Regions from separate parts of the Homo sapiens genome. Here all the other regions are linked to region 1. The links are contacts of gene promoters, found by promoter capture Hi-C in human tissues and cell types (Jung and others, 2019). All regions are on one chromosome and are shown on one strand. Each heading gives the region's core, a stretch centred on a gene start or on the middle of the fragment in contact. The rest is flanking DNA. Distances are from core to core; before and after follow the strand shown.

The links. The method cuts DNA at HindIII sites, captures the fragments that hold promoters and counts their contacts. A contact is called where the count stands out against the background at its distance.
Region 2: a fragment that was not itself captured here is called in contact with the fragment with the promoter of SLC22A1 in region 1 in 1 of the 25 tissues and cell types used here (aorta).
Region 3: a fragment that was not itself captured here is called in contact with the fragment with the promoter of SLC22A1 in region 1 in 1 of the 25 tissues and cell types used here (H1 embryonic stem cells).

The regions. Positions count from the first base shown.
Region 1 is chr6:160,119,015-160,124,096 of GRCh38, reverse strand. It overlaps SLC22A1 (solute carrier family 22 member 1), which reads right to left and starts at 2,282. Exons shown (of 11, transcript NM_003057.3): 1 at 1,751-2,282. The coding sequence starts at 2,161. LOC124901452 (a long non-coding RNA gene) reads left to right here and starts at 2,402. Exons shown (of 2, transcript XR_007059842.1): 1 at 2,402-3,255; 2 at 4,668-5,082. The HindIII fragment of the contact is 5,449 bases long and covers 1-4,024 here.
Region 2 is chr6:160,513,593-160,518,674 of GRCh38, reverse strand. No RefSeq gene overlaps it. Among named protein-coding and RNA genes, the nearest start is that of LPA, 150 kb to the left of the region's middle. The HindIII fragment of the contact is 5,020 bases long and covers 410-5,082 here.
Region 3 is chr6:160,475,347-160,480,428 of GRCh38, reverse strand. It overlaps the pseudogene LPAL2. Among named protein-coding and RNA genes, the nearest start is that of SLC22A3, 130 kb to the right of the region's middle. The HindIII fragment of the contact is 4,217 bases long and covers 117-4,333 here.

The DNA.
Region 1 (5,082 bases), core at 1,033-3,532:
CCTGAGCCTAGGCTCAAGCTCTCCCCTTGGTCTGGGGATCTACTTCCCCTCCCCTCTACTCCACCTGTCCCCTCTCCTTGCTGGTCCAAATACCAGCTGAGGCTCAGCTCAAAGCCACCTCCTCCCAGAAGACGTCTATGATCAGCTCAGAGCTCAGCAGCTGAGATCTCTACCTTCTTAGAGCCCACCAGTCCCTTTCCGCCCTGCTCATGGCATTCACCACAGGCGGCCTTGGGCTGTCATTAAACGAACACTGGTCTCATTCTTGCCATCCTCTTCCCCTCTCAGTCCCCACAAGACTGCAGACTCCTTGAGGGACCTCACAATCTTCTTCTGCATCTCCCCTGCGGCATCACACCCAGTGCCAGAATAGAGGGAGTATGCCGAACATACTGGGTGGATGTCTGACTGGAGGAATGATCACATCTGATCTCCTCAAAGCAGAGTATGTCTCAGTCCCAGAGAGCAAACACATCCTCATCCTGGTCTGCTTCTAGATTCCCAGTGGGAATGTCAGATGGTTGGAGATCCCTGGAAGGTGGGCTGCCTAACTTGTCATCCATTGTTGGAGGATGCCTTGGAGACAAGATGTCTCTTCAGCATCGTAAAGCCAGTTGCACCGGCACCTGCTCTGCTCCAGGCAAGCAGGTAGAGCAATGCTCAGGCCCAGAGGGGAGGGACCCTAAGCTTTCCTCCAGTAATAGCCCTAAATGTGTCACCGCTGATACCACTCAGGAAAGGGAAAAGAGGAAGAACAGAGACCCAAGAAGTCCGGAGAGCTTGGGCGAGGGTAGTGGGGGCAGACAAGTGGGCAGGACCAGAGGCAGGGAGGGCCCAGTTACCTCTTATTTCAGGGAAGCAGTGCCTGCACCAAAACCACGCCACTGCTCGTTACTAACAGAAGGCCCCTGACGGGCTTTGGCCCACAGCTTCTCCAACCCACCAAGCATCCACACTTGTTACCGTGCAATAGTTTCAAAAGGGCTCATGATGGGAAAAAAATGTGGTGACACTTTTTACTAAAGGATTCTCAAAGCAAAATGCTCAAATAACCAAGTAAACTACTCAAGCAAGGCCCTTTTGAGGCCATCGCCCTATCCCATGGGCCCCATCGGACTGCACGGTGTGACTCAGTTTGGATTTGCTCAGTGCTTTCACAGATCCCAGCTGAAGCTCACACCCCTATGAGGCAGCCGTCATCATCCCTGGTTGACTGATGAGGAAATGAGGCTTAGAGAGGCAGTGACTTACCCAGTGATGCTCAGCTAATAAGGGGCACAGCTGGGATTCCACCAAATATTCTCACTTCCAAGCCAGGGCAATTCCAGGCCACCTCAACACCATCATTGAGGTCAATCGTCATCACTCTTGAGCAGAAGGAGGGGGCCCACAGTACTATTGGTGGGGAAGCGGGACCCAGAGCAAGTTGATAGTTCTGGGAGAAGCCAGTGGGGCAGGCAGAGAGGCTCCTGGTCTCCCAGTCAACTCCCATTCAAGCAACCTGGCAACCTGGCCCCCGACTTGTGCTAGCTGTTCTCTCCTGCCTCAGCTTCCTCCTCAAAGACCCAGAGTTTGTGGTGGATTAAACTAGAGAAGAGAATGCCCCGTGCCTGGGACACAGCCAGACACCCACGAACTGCACAATAAACATAGCCCCCTACCTCTTTCCTGATATGGAACTGAACTTCATAGGATTTGCTTTATATTTCTCCCTGTCCCAGGAACTCCCATGTTACAGAGGCTTTTTTACCTCAGTGACGATGGAAGAGCCGGGCGTGTCATACACCCAGCCATCCTGGCAGGGACCCAGCGGCAGGTGGCTCCTGTTGGTGGCCAGGCTAGCCAGGGGGTCTACACAGCTGAGGGCGCTCTGGTTCCAGTCCACTTCATAGCGCCTGCACTGGCCAAGGAAGGCCTCGCCCGCGGGCCCCAGGCCTGGCACTGTATAGTTCAGCTCCTCCGCAGGGCTCCAGCCACAGCGCTGGCTCAGCTCAGCCACCCCAGGACTCTGGCAGTGGTGGTCAGGTGTGAAACCCAGGAAGACGATGCCCACACAGATGGGCGCAAAGGCAGCCGACAGCAGGCATAAGATGAGGAAGGCTTGCTTCTGGAACCAGCCAGACTCCCCAACCTGCTCCAGAATGTCATCCACGGTGGGCATGATGGCTCAGCATGCTCATGGCCGTGGCCAGACCTGCTCTGGGCTGCAGTGGCCAGGTGCAATGTCTCCCTCAGAGATCTTTGAAAAGGAGTGGTTTGAAATCAGTTTGCTGTCCAAGTGTGAAACATCTGGAAGGCAACCAAGTAGAAATAATCTTTTACCCTATGGTGCTGGTTTCAGGAAAAGGAAGAATGCACGTGGCCATCTGATCAAATCGTTTGCTTTGCCCGGGAGCGAGTCAGTGGGGTCTAAGCCCGAAGAGAATTGAAGTTCAGCCACAGAGCAAGAAGAGGGCAGGAGAGCAGGCCGTGCAAACCTCCTAGTAGCTCCCTCAGGGCTCTTCCAAAAAGAATATCTACTTGTTTTCTAGATGTGATGGTATGAGGCAAGTATTGGGTGACAGCCAGGTACTAGATACTGTATTCGGCTAATTAGTTCTGTGATACCATTTAAGTATTTTTTTTAGTTTTTTTTTCCCATAGGTTTTGAGGGAACAGGTATTATTTGGTTACATGAGCAGGTTCTTTAGTGGTGATTTGTGAGATTTTGGTGCATCCATCTCCCAAGCAGTATACACTGCACCCAATTTGGGTGTTTTAAGCTCCACCTCTTCATTTGTGTGTGTGTATACATGTCTAGATGTGTTTACTTGTATGTACACTTACTGTTATATGTTGTGTCTACCAAATTGGCTTATAAGTAAAAGAGTGTTCATAAATTAAGTAAATAAGTCTAAGCAATTTTCAAATTCACTTAAGTATGACTTTGCTAAATAGGCTGTCTTTTAAATTATCAGTAAAATGAAAATAGAAATGTCTTCAAAATATAGACATGGTCTAAATTATGCAAGTCAGAAACTAGGTTGACTAAATGCTTTAAGGTCATAAACTGCTTTGGCTTTTGAAAATTGTTCAACTTTCCTGCTTTGCAGTTTGGTAGGGCCTGCCCTAGCTATGCTGGAAATAGTTAGACCTCATCTGCACCTAAGTACGTAACTAAAATAACTTACTGGGTATTTCACCAAAATTAACAATTACTAAGAGCTACCATTATAACATGTAGTGATGACTACTGAAAACAGATCTACACGTGAGGTGAGTAAGGAGAGTAAAATGTATCATTAGTAAAATAATATAAGAAGGCATGGGAATGTAAATTTTTGCCTAGTTCAGAGGGTTAAATGATTGTTTTAAATTATATAAGATAAAGCTTAAGGTTCAAACAAGTTATGGAAGGTTTGTAAAAAATTAATCTTGTAAAAGGAATCCTGTGTGTAAACATATTGACTACACTAAAAAGGATATTATTTGGTTTTCCATAAGTTGAACAATGGAATACAAGCACAACAAGGTTTTCTTGAAGCACTTACATGCTGTTTAACAAAAAAAATTTGTAAAAGGTTATAAAAGATTTATAACAATCTCAGTTCATGATCAAACTGATTAAGATTGGATGGATTTCTCTGTAAGGTTTTATTTTTTTTAATTGGGGTTGACATTAATAGACTAATGTAAGGGTAAAATTTGGCTTTCACTTGAACAAGATTTTCATGCAATGAAAGATTTTGTTTTCTTTGTGAATAAGCTACTGACACAAGAAGGGAAGGACAAGAGATCAACAGGACTCCAGGGTCAATAGGGCTCCATAGCTGAGGGGAAGGGAGCTCAGCAGCCTGACATGCTGGCGAAAGGGTAAAAGTTCTTACCAGTCAGACTTTTGGTTTCTCTCTCTGTGCAAACTGGTTGCAGGAACAATAAAAAAATCACTATATTCTCTGCCCCTCCATGAATTCAACTGGCCATTTGGCATGGCTAAAGTTGGATAATAAGAGACTTAAAAGGACTTCTTAAAAAGGAGTGCGATGGTTAAAAGTTAGATTGTTTGGAAAATTAGGTCTTCCCTCTTAGTGACTGAAGGTTTTTGCTTTGAGTCATTTAAATGAATGACTTATAGTAACCAAAAATTCTGTTAAGTGTTTTGAGCCTTTACAGCTTCAAAATTTTCTTTCCTAACCCCTGAGTTTTGGATGCTACAGAAGACACCTGGAGCATCGAAAGGGAGAGGTAAACAGGGTTATTTGACAAGTTTAGTTACATAGGATTACCAAAATAAGGTGTTTGATCTTCAGGTTATATTTTAGTGAAAAATGTTAATGTGTGTTTCAAAATTGTATGGGATTTCTAGATTTCTGATGCCTGAGTTTGTGTTATCAATCATAGCTAGGGTTATTGTGTTAGGTTATTGTAAATCACAGAGGTGACCAGATTTCTTCATCAATTGTGTTTTTGACTATGAATACGCTAGGACATTTTGACATTCACAGACAATTGTTGTCATGTTTTGATCCTCTTCAAGGGATGGATTATAGTCTTCAAATGCAGATTTCTGATAATTTTGGAGATTGTGAATAGGAGTTGACTGGGTGAGCTGAACTAATAGAAGACTGAAGCAATCTTGTTTTGACCTTTTGCTTGGAATACTGTTGATCCTTTATCTTGTTTTTCAGAATCAAGGAAGCTTTTCTTTTGAGCTATTTGTAGCTTTTGACAATTGTGAAGGTGAACCAACTAGTGATATCTGACTACAGCTCAGAAGAAACAAGGGATGGGCCGTTAAACTCCAAATGGTCATGAAAATGGAGCCTCAGATGATGGCTGCCTTGTACTGGATATTCTTAGATAGGTCTCTGAGAGAGACTTGACTGTTGTTTTCCCAAAACAATATCCCTGGTCAGCACGAAGCAGTTAAGAGTGGTCATTGTCCCTACCCTAACAGCAGTTAGGTGTACCTCTTCAGAGGGGGAAATGATGGCAGCAGCAGGGAGGCGTGGCTGGGGCTGAACACTCCACGGAGCTGATGGAAGCCCCACCCTCCTGGGACTGTGGATCCAAGCCTCCTTGTGCTCTTGGAGGGGGCCAGCA
Region 2 (5,082 bases), core at 1,670-4,169, 390 kb before region 1:
TTATCCAAAGCAATGGAAATCGTTAAATATCAAAGAGACCTCTGCATCCTCAGGTTTACTGCAGCACTATTCATAATAACAAAGACATGTAATCAATCTAGTTGTCTGACTACACATGAATGGATAAAGAAAATGTGATATATACATACCATAAAATACTATTCAACCATTAAAAAAATGAGATCCTATCTTTTGCAGCAACATGGATGAAACTAAAGGAAGGTTTGTTAAGTAAGCCAGGAACAGAAAGGTAAACAGTGAGTGTTCTCACTCAGTGTTACAGTAGGTAGCTAGTAAGGTATGAGCAGGGCAGAACAGTGCCTTCCCCTACCACCGCCCCAAACACACACCTGGAGTGTTGTCAACCATTAGGTGATGGTCAGGCAGTTTTTAACTGTCTTTGTAAAGTAATAATTGGTCACAGCTGGCACCAGTGAAAAGCCATCTCCCAATAGATAGAAAACACCTGAAACAGCTTCTGGATAAGCTCTCAGGAGTTGGGTGAGTGGGGAGAAGGGATACAAGACCCCGGAAGCATGCCAGTATATAAAACCCCAAGTCAAAAGGTCAAAGCACACACTTGACTTTCTTTTTAAAAAATTTTTTTAAAAATTATTATACTTTAAGTTCTGGGATACATGTGCAGAACATGCAGGTTTGTTACATAGATATCCATGTGCCATGGTGGTTTGCTGCACCCATCAACTTGTCATCTACATTAGGTATTTCTCCTAATACTATCCCTCCCCTAACCCCTCAACCCCTGACAGGCCCCAGTGTGTGATGTTCCCTTCCCCATGTCCATGTGTTCTCATTGTTCAACTCACGCTTATCAGTGAAAATATGCAGTGTTTGGTTTTCTGTTCTTACGTTAGTTGGCTGAGAATGATGGTTTCCAGCTTCAGCCATGTCCCTGCAAAGGACGTGAACTCAACCTTTTTATGGCTGCATAGTATTCCATGGTGTATATGTGCCATGTTTTCTTTATCCAGTCTATCACTGATGGGCATTTGGGTTGGTTCCAAGTATTTGCTATTGTGAACAGTGCCGCAGTAAACATACGTGTGTGTGTGTCTTTATAGTAGAATGATTTATAATCCTTTGGGTATATACCTAGCAATGGAATTGCTGGGTCAAATGGTATTTCTAGTTCTAGATCCTTGAGGAATTGCCACACTGTCTTCCACAGTGGTTGAACTAATTGATACTCCCACCAACAGTGTAAAAGTGTTCCTATTTCTCCACATCCTCTTCAACATCTGTTGTTTCCTGACCTCCTAAGGATCACCATTCTAACTGGCATGAGATGGTATCTCATTGTGATTTTCATTTGCATTTCTCTAATGACCAGTGATGATGAGCTTTTTTTCATATGTGTATTGGCTGCATAAATGTCTTCTTTTGAGAAGTGTCTGTTCTTACTGCCCACTTTTTGATGGAGTTGTTTTTTTCTTGTAAATTTGTTCAAGTTCTTTGTAGATTCTGGATATTAGCCCTTTGTCAGATGGATAGATTGCAAAAATTTTCTCCCATTATGTAGGTTGCCTATTCACTCTGATGATAGTTTCTTTTGCTGTGCAGAAGCTCTTTAGCTTAATTAGATCCCATTTGTCAATTTTGGCTTTTGTTGCTATTGCTTTTGGTGTTTTAGTCATAAAGTCTTCTCCCATGCCTATGTCCTGAATCATATTGTCTAGGTTTTCTTCTAGGGTTTTTATGTTTTTATGTTTTATGTTTAAGTCGTTAATCCATCTTGAGTTAATTTTTGTATAAGGTGTAAGGAAGGGGTCCAGTTTCCGTTTTCTGCATATGGCTAACTAGTTTTCCCAACACCATTTATTAAATAGGGAATCCTTTCTCCATTGCTTGTTTTTGTCACGTTTGTCAAAGATCAGATGGTTGTAGATGTTTGGTGTTATTTCTGAGGGCTCTGTTCTGTTTCATTGGTGTATATATCTGTTTTGGTACCAGTACCATGCTGTTTTGGTTACTGTAGCCTTGTGGTATAGTTTGAAGTTGGGAAGCGTGATGCCTCCAGCTTTGTTTTTTTTTTGTTTTTGTTTTTGTTTTTTTTTTTTGCTTAGGCTTGTCTTGGCTATATGGGATCTTTTTGGTTCCATATGAAATTTAAAGTAGTTTTTTCTAATTATGTGAAGAAAGTCAATGGTAGCTTGATGGGGATAACATTGACTCTATAAATTACTTTGGGGAATATGGCCATTTTCATGATTCTTCCTGTCTATGAGCATGGAATTTTTTTCCATTTGTTTGTGTCCTCTCTTATTTCCTTGAGCAGTGGTTTGTAGTTCTCCTTGAAGAGGTCTTTAACATCCCTTTAAGTTGTATTCCTAGGTATTTTATTCTCTTTGTAGCAATTGTGAATGGGAATTCACTCATGATTTGGCTCTTTGTCTATTATTGGTGTATAGGAATGCTTGTGATTTTTGCACATTGATTTTGTATCCTGAGACTTTGCTGAAGTTTCTTATCAGCTTAAGGAGATTTTGGGCTGAGATGATGGGGTTTTCTAAATATACAATCATGTCATCTGCAAACAGAGACAATTTGACTTCATCTTTTTCCATCTGATACCCTTTATTTCTTTCTCTTGCCTGATTGCCCTGGCCAGAATTTCTAATACTATGTTGAATAGGAGTGGTGAGAGAAGGCATCCTTGTCTTGTGCTGGTTTTCAAAGGGAATGCTTCCAGCTTTTGCACATTCAGTATGATATTGGCTATGGGTTTGTCATAAATAGCTCTTATTATTTTGAGGTATGTTCCATCAATACCAAGATTATTGAGAGTTTTTAGCATGAAGGGCTATTTAATTTTATTGAAGGCCTTTTCTATATCTATTGAGATAATCATGTGGTTTTTGTCATTGGTTCTGTTTATGTGATGAATTACCCTTATTGATTTGTGTATGTTGAACCAGCCTTGCATCCCAGAGATGAAGCCGACTTGATCATGGTAGATAAGCTTTTTGATGTGCTACTGGATTAGGTTTGCCAGTATTTTATTGAGGATTTTTGCATAGATGTTCATCAGGGATATTGGCCTGAAATTTTCTTTATGTTGCGTCTCTGCCAGGTTTTGGTATCAGAATGATGCTGGCCTCATAAAATGAGTTAGGGAGGAGTCCCTCTTTTTCTATTGTTTGGAAGAATTTCAGGAGGAATGGTACCAGCTTCTCTTTGTACCTCTGATATAATTCGTCTCTGAATCCATCTGGTCCTGGACTTTTTTTGGTTACTATTAATTGCTGCCTCAATTTCAGAACTTGTTATTCAAGTTCAGGGAATTCAGCTTCTTCATGGTTTAGACTTGGGAGGGTGTATCTGTCTAGGAATTTATCTATTTCTTCTAGATTTTCTAGATTATTTGCATAGAGGTGTTGATAGTATTCCTTGATGGTAGTTTGTATTTCTGTGGGATCAGTGGTGATATCTCCTTTATCATTCTTTATTGTGTCTATCGGATTCTTTTCTCTTTTCTTCATTAGTTTGGCTACTGGTCTATCTATTTTGTTGATCTTTTCAAAAAAACAACTCCTGGATTCATTGATTTTTTGAAGGGTTTTTCCTGTCTCTATCTTCTTCAGTTCTGCTCTGATCTTAGTTATTTCTTATCTTCTGCTAGCTTTTGTATTTGTTTGCTCTTGCTTCTCTAGTTCTTTTAATTGTGATGTTAGGGTGTCGACTTTAGATCCTCTTTCTTTATCTTGTGGGCATTTAGTGCTATAAATTTCCCCCTAAACACTGCTTTAGCTGTGTCCCAGAGATTCTGGTATGTTGTGTCTTTGTTCTCATTGGTTTCAAAGAACTTATTTATTTCTCCCTTAATTGCAATATTTACGCAGTAGTCTTTCAGGAGCAGGTTGTTCAGTTTCTATGTAGTTGTGCTGTTTTGAGTGAATTTCTTAATCCTGAGTTCTAATTTGATTGCACTGTGGTCTGAGAGACTGTTATGATTTCCATTCTTTTGCATTTGCTGAGGAGTGTTTTACTTCCAATTATCTGGTCTATTTCAGAATAAGTGCAATGTGGTGCTGAGAAGAATATATATTCTGTTGATTTGGGGTGGAGAGTTCTGTAGATGTCTATTAGGTTGGCTTGGTCCAGAGCTGAGTTCAAGTCCTGAATATCCTTGTTAATTTTCTGTCTCATTGATCTGTCTAATATTGACAGTGGGGTATTAAAGTCTCCCACTATTTTTTGTGTGGGAGTCTAAGTCTCTTTGTAGGTCTCCATGAACTTGCTTTATGAACCTGGGAGCTACTGTATTGCATATATATTTAGGATAGTCAGCTCTTCTTGTTGCATTGATCCCTTTACCATCATGTAATGCCTTTCTTTGTCTCTTTTGATCTTTGTTCATTTAAAGTTTGTTTTATCAGAGACTAGGATTGCAACCCACCCACCCCCCTTTTTTTTTTCTTTTTTGCTTTCTATTTGCTTGGTAAATATTCCTCCATCCCTTTATTTTGAGCCTACATGCGTCTTTGCACATGAGATGGGTCTCCTGAATACAACACACAATGGGTCTTGACTCTTTATCCACTTTGACAGTCTGTGTCTTTTAATTGGGGCATTTGGAACTTCCCAGGGGCATTGTTTACACTGTGAAGGGAAAACCGCCTACTCAAGGCTTAGTAATAGTGGACACCCCTCCCCCAACCAAGCTGGAGCATCCCAGTTCAACCTCAGACTGCTGTGCTGGCAGCAAGAATTCCAAGCCAGTAGATCTTAGGGTGCTTGGCTCCATGGGGGTGGGATCCACTGAGCTGGACCCCTCGGCTCCCTGGCTTCAGTCCCCTTTCCAGGGGAGTGAACAGTTCTGTCTCACTGGCATCCCAGGCACCACTGGGGTATGGAAAAAAAGCTCCTGCAGCTAGCTCAGTGTCTACCCAAATGGCTATCCAGTTTTGTGCTTGAAACCCAGGGCCCTGGTGGCATAGGCACCCAAGGGAATCTCCTGGTCTGTGGGTTGTGAAGACCATGGGAAATGCATAGTATCTGTGCCAGAGTGCACCATTCCTCACGGCACAGACCCTCATGGATTCCCTTGGCTAGGGGAGGGAG
Region 3 (5,082 bases), core at 976-3,475, 360 kb before region 1:
GGCAAAGGAATATCATTAAAATGATAAACAGGGAAAAGAAGAGATCAACCGAGAATGCTACATCCAGCTATACACTGCCTTGAAAATCATCAATGTTGTATAATTGCATTTTGTGCACCCCCCAAACAAGAAATCCGAAAGCTATGAGAATTTGGAATCAGCAGGCTTATGTCACAAAAGATGTGGCCCAAAGGGAATTACGTACAAGAAGAATAGTACAAGGTGGGAACTTTCTGCATCCCACGTATTGAAGAACCCAGCAAATGGCAAATGTAGATGTAAATGCAAAAATATTTTCTTGATCAAATTTCGTAATTGCCTTAAATTATATTTGACTGCTTGAAGCAAAATGACAGCAATATGTATTATTTTAGCATATTTGAAGTAAAAATTTGAAAATGTAGCATAAATCGTGTAGGGAATAAAGAATTATACCATTGTAAGTTTCTTGCCTTACCTATGATGGTACATAATAAAAGTTTGAAATATTTGGGTTCAAAGAGATATTGCAAATTCTAGAGTAATCACAAAATTGTGAACACTGAGGTATATTCTATGACAAGAATATTCCATATGTCAAAAAGAAGGCAGCCAAGGAAGAAAAATAAGTCAACTGCTCGGCTCTGAGCACATCCAAATGCTCAGAGAACAAGCTTCTTGAATGGAGGGTCTGTGCTTGAGACTAGGTCACATGTGTAGTCTCTTGAGAGAGAGTGTTGGATCCCCATGGCACATAATACATTTCCCGTTTTCACAGACAGCCACAGGTCATGAATGCGAGAATACTGAGAGGTTGGAGCAATGTTCCTGGGATTCATAAGGGGGAGCAAATGCTCCAAGATACACCCATCGCGGGTTACTCACCACCTTTGCCTCTTACTCCATTGTTTTCTGACTCCTCTGCGAATACATAGAGTAAGGGGGCTGGCCTGGGAATGGTGTCATGTTGGATGCCATTTCTTCCCTGAAGAAATATATTTTGATTCCAATTTACATGTTACTGTAGAGTCCTAAAGAAGGATATAAAGAAGTAGACAGATATCAATATATTATATATTTTTATGTGCATTAATAAAATCTAAGATGCACACTTAAAAAATCCACATCAGTTTTCTGGAGGAATGCAGTTGGCAGAAGGAGAAACATATTCTGATCTTTTTCCCTTTTTTTTTTTTTTTTGAGATGGAGTTTTGCTTGTGTTGCCCAGGCTGGAGTGCAATGGTGCGATCTCGGCTCACTGCAATCTCTGCCTCCTGGGCTCAAGGGATTCTCCTGCCTCAGCCTCCCAAGTAGCTGGAAATACAGGCACCCACCACCACTCCCAGCTTATTTTGTATTTTTACTAGAGACAGGGCTTCTCCGTATTGGTCAGGTTGGTCTCGAACTCCCGACCTCAGGTGATCTGCCTGCCTCAGCCTCCCAAAGTGCTGGGATTACAGGTGTGAGCCATCGCACCCAGCTCTAATTTTTTTCTTGTGTACGTTTATGCATGATCTCAGTTTTTAAATGGAGCATAGACTATTTTTGATTTTTTAAAATATACATTATAATCTATCTTGGAAATTTACACTCTTCTTTAGAACTTGAGGACCATTTTTGCCTTGGGAATATCATTTTACCTAAAATGGGAATATTCAAATGTCACTTTTTAACACTTTATTGTAACAAAATTTAGACAGTGCTGGGTGCCCCTGAATTTTTTACCATCTCTTGTAACCTGTATTGTTCTGGAATTTGCAGTGGCCTGACCAGGAACTACTGCAGGAATCCAGATTCTGGGAAACAACCCTGGTGTTACACAACTGATCCGTGTGTGAGGTGGGAGTACTGCAACCTGACACAATGCTCAGAAACAGAATCAGTGTCCTAGAGACTCCCACTGTTGTTCCAGTTCCAAGCATGGAGGCTCATTCTGAAGCAGGTAAGAAGTCTGTGGCCAGACATCTACACATTTGAACATTGGGATGAAAAGATTTAAAATCTGACAGATGCAGAAGCCTTCCATGCTACTGAGAAACTTGATGGTTGGTTGAGGTTATGCCGTGCATAAGGAAGCCTCAGCACCCTCTCTGCTCTAGCAAGAGGTGTAATTTTTGGTGCAATGCTAGTCAATGGTGTCTTTAGGAAGGGTGCAACCCTCCAGGGCGCTTGACTTACCACTCATCTTGTTAAGTGAGTTATCTTGGTGTCCTAGACAAAATTCCAGTTCTAACGTCCGGCCAAATTTGTGCCAATTTTCACACCAGTGAGTGTTTCCAGGCCTTTCGTAAAATGGGCAGTGTTCATTGCAATCATTGCATTGTGGTTGCTGAGGTATGTGGCCGCTGAGTTTGTCATCCTGGAGAAACCTAATATGATGACATTTATTCCATCTAATCCTGGGGCTATTTGACACTACATAACCACAGAATGCATTATTTCTCTGGCTTATCTTAGTCTTAGGTAGGCTCTGCACACCTATGCTTGGAAGGCAGGAATTTCTTGGTGTTCTTGCGCCTTCTTCTCGTGGAACGTGCATCTTTGGTGTGTGTTGAGAGGAAAGGTAGTAGACTTCTGCTTTGTTGCAATGCAGGGTGCTGGAACAAGAGGATTCCCTGTCTCTCCTGTAAGGGAATAAGATTTTAGTCTCCATCCTTCTCTAAGAAGCAATGTGTCTTTGCCTGCAAGTACTAGATGCAGGACCATGAACTGCCCCGTCCACCAGAAGCTTAAGGCTTTGGCTTTTCAGGAGCAATGGTCTAGGGAAATGTGCAAGGTTTTCCTGTCTGTCCCCCACTGACAGCCAATCACCCAACAGCCTGCATGGCCTAATCCATCACTGTCTGGTTTCCTGCCTTGTTGTTCTCATGAACAATCAGTAGAGAGCCACACAAAAGAGCTTGCACATGAGTCTTAGTTGCAATTGTAAGAACACTGATAGGTCCTTTCCCCACCAGATTTTGAATATAACATTTCTAAGAACTTATTAAAATATTAGAATGCTATTAATCTATTGTTTTTGCTTCAGCATGTCCTTCTGCTTGCGAGTATTCTGAAGAGAACAGTCATAATTCTGAAACTACTGTCCTGTTTGTGTCATAAATTGCTTCACATGTTTCTGCGTACTAGTAATTACTGAGCTTGATTTTGACTATTTTCAGCACCAACTGAGCAAACCCCTGTGGTCCGGCAGTGCTACCATGGTAATGGACAGAGTTATCAAGGCACATTCTCCACCACTGTCACAGGAAGGACATGTCAATCTTGGTCATCCATGACACCACACCGGCATCAGAGGACCCCAGAAAACTACCCAAATGAGTATGTCTTTGATGTTACTTGTAAGAGGAGCAACAGCCAACTTAAGTTCCTCCTAGAAGAGCCTTGCTTCAAGCTAACTTGTTAGGACAAATTTCCCTTAGACCCAGAAGGTGTGTCAAAATGTCCAAACAACTTTGCTTTTGATCAAAGAGTCTGAGAGAATAGGTATTTTAGGCTTGCTATCTTTTCTAATAGTCTGATGGAAGCAGAAGGCTACATGGAGCTGATGAGGTCTTTTTAATATAAAGCTCAGGAGAACAAACGATCAAATAGAGTGCCATTCTACAAGGCTCATAAAAGATCAATGCAGTCTTTCACCCATGCAATTCTATCATTCTAACCTCCCTTCCCTGAAGTGAAGGTTGGGTTTGCCATTTTTGTCATGGGTCACAAGTAAATAATTCACATGTGTGTGCATATATATAGAACCAGGTGTGTTCATACAGACTAGTATTCATATATATGTGCTCATATAGGTTGGTATTCATATATGTGTTCATACAGGCAAGTATTCATATATGGTCTAGGGAAATGTGCAAGGTTTTCATGTCTGTCCCTGACTGATGACCAATCACCCTATAGTCTGCACAGCTGCAGGCTATATAGCTATACAATCTGCAGGACACACACACACACACACACACACATAATATAACTATGTGTGTGTGTGTATATATATATATAGTTATATATAGTTATATATATACACCTGTGTGAACACACTGGGTTCTAAGCTCCAGTTTTCTGAAGGGATATGGGTTGCCAGGACAGGAAGAGCAAAAGCAAGAACGTAGATGAGAGTCAGTCAGGAAGTAAACAGATGTACAGATTAAAACGGGCCGGTACATGGACAAAAAACCTGGTCTGACAAAAACTGGCTTTCTGCCATAAAAGACTACAAAAGATATACAAAAAAACTTTCCACATGTTGGACAAGAGACAGTACAGGACTGAGATAATTTAGAAAAGGAAATGAATGAGCGCAACTCCATAACTATTATGACTTTCTTCCTGGAGAACCTTCCTGGACTGAAGGGCAAGGAATTGGAGCCAAAGCCAACCACAGCAGTCTTGCTGAACTGAGGAAAGAGACTGGAGTTTGGGATAGCTAAGAAAATGTGTATTTTCTATGCTAGGTAATAATGAGAAAGAATTTGTGGTGAAAAGGAGCTGAAGGAATATGCATGGAAGTCTAATATAAACTGCATATGCACAGGGAGAAATTCTACAAAGTGGGACAGAGAACCACTACTGGGGAAAGGACAAATTCAGGGAAACAGTGAGCTCAATGGTGACGCCAGAGCTCACGTAGCACTGGGGGATACTGGGGTTCTGATCAGCCTAAGGAGAGACACCTCATTGAACATCTCGGGCATTCAGTAGAGACCCCAGGAAAGTCATACTTTAGGAGCAGGATTTATGCCTTCTTAGAATAAAGGCTACTCCAGAAATACCTTAGCAAAACTTAAAAACCAAGTCTAAAAGGATCCAAATAATCTCCAAGTAAATTAACTGCCTGACAGAAGGAAACTCAACCATCACTGGAGGTAAATAACTGGATCATGGTACTCCGTAATGTGACATTCACAATGAGTGACATAAATTTTAAAATTTAATAGGCAAAAAAAGCAACCATAACTGGGAGAAAAATCAGTCAATACAAATAGACCAACAAATAATAAAGACAATGGAATTGGTAAAGAAATTCAAACTGTGTATATATGATAATTGTGTTCAAAGATTTAAAGAAAACATGGACATAAGAGAAACAAGTGCAGAATA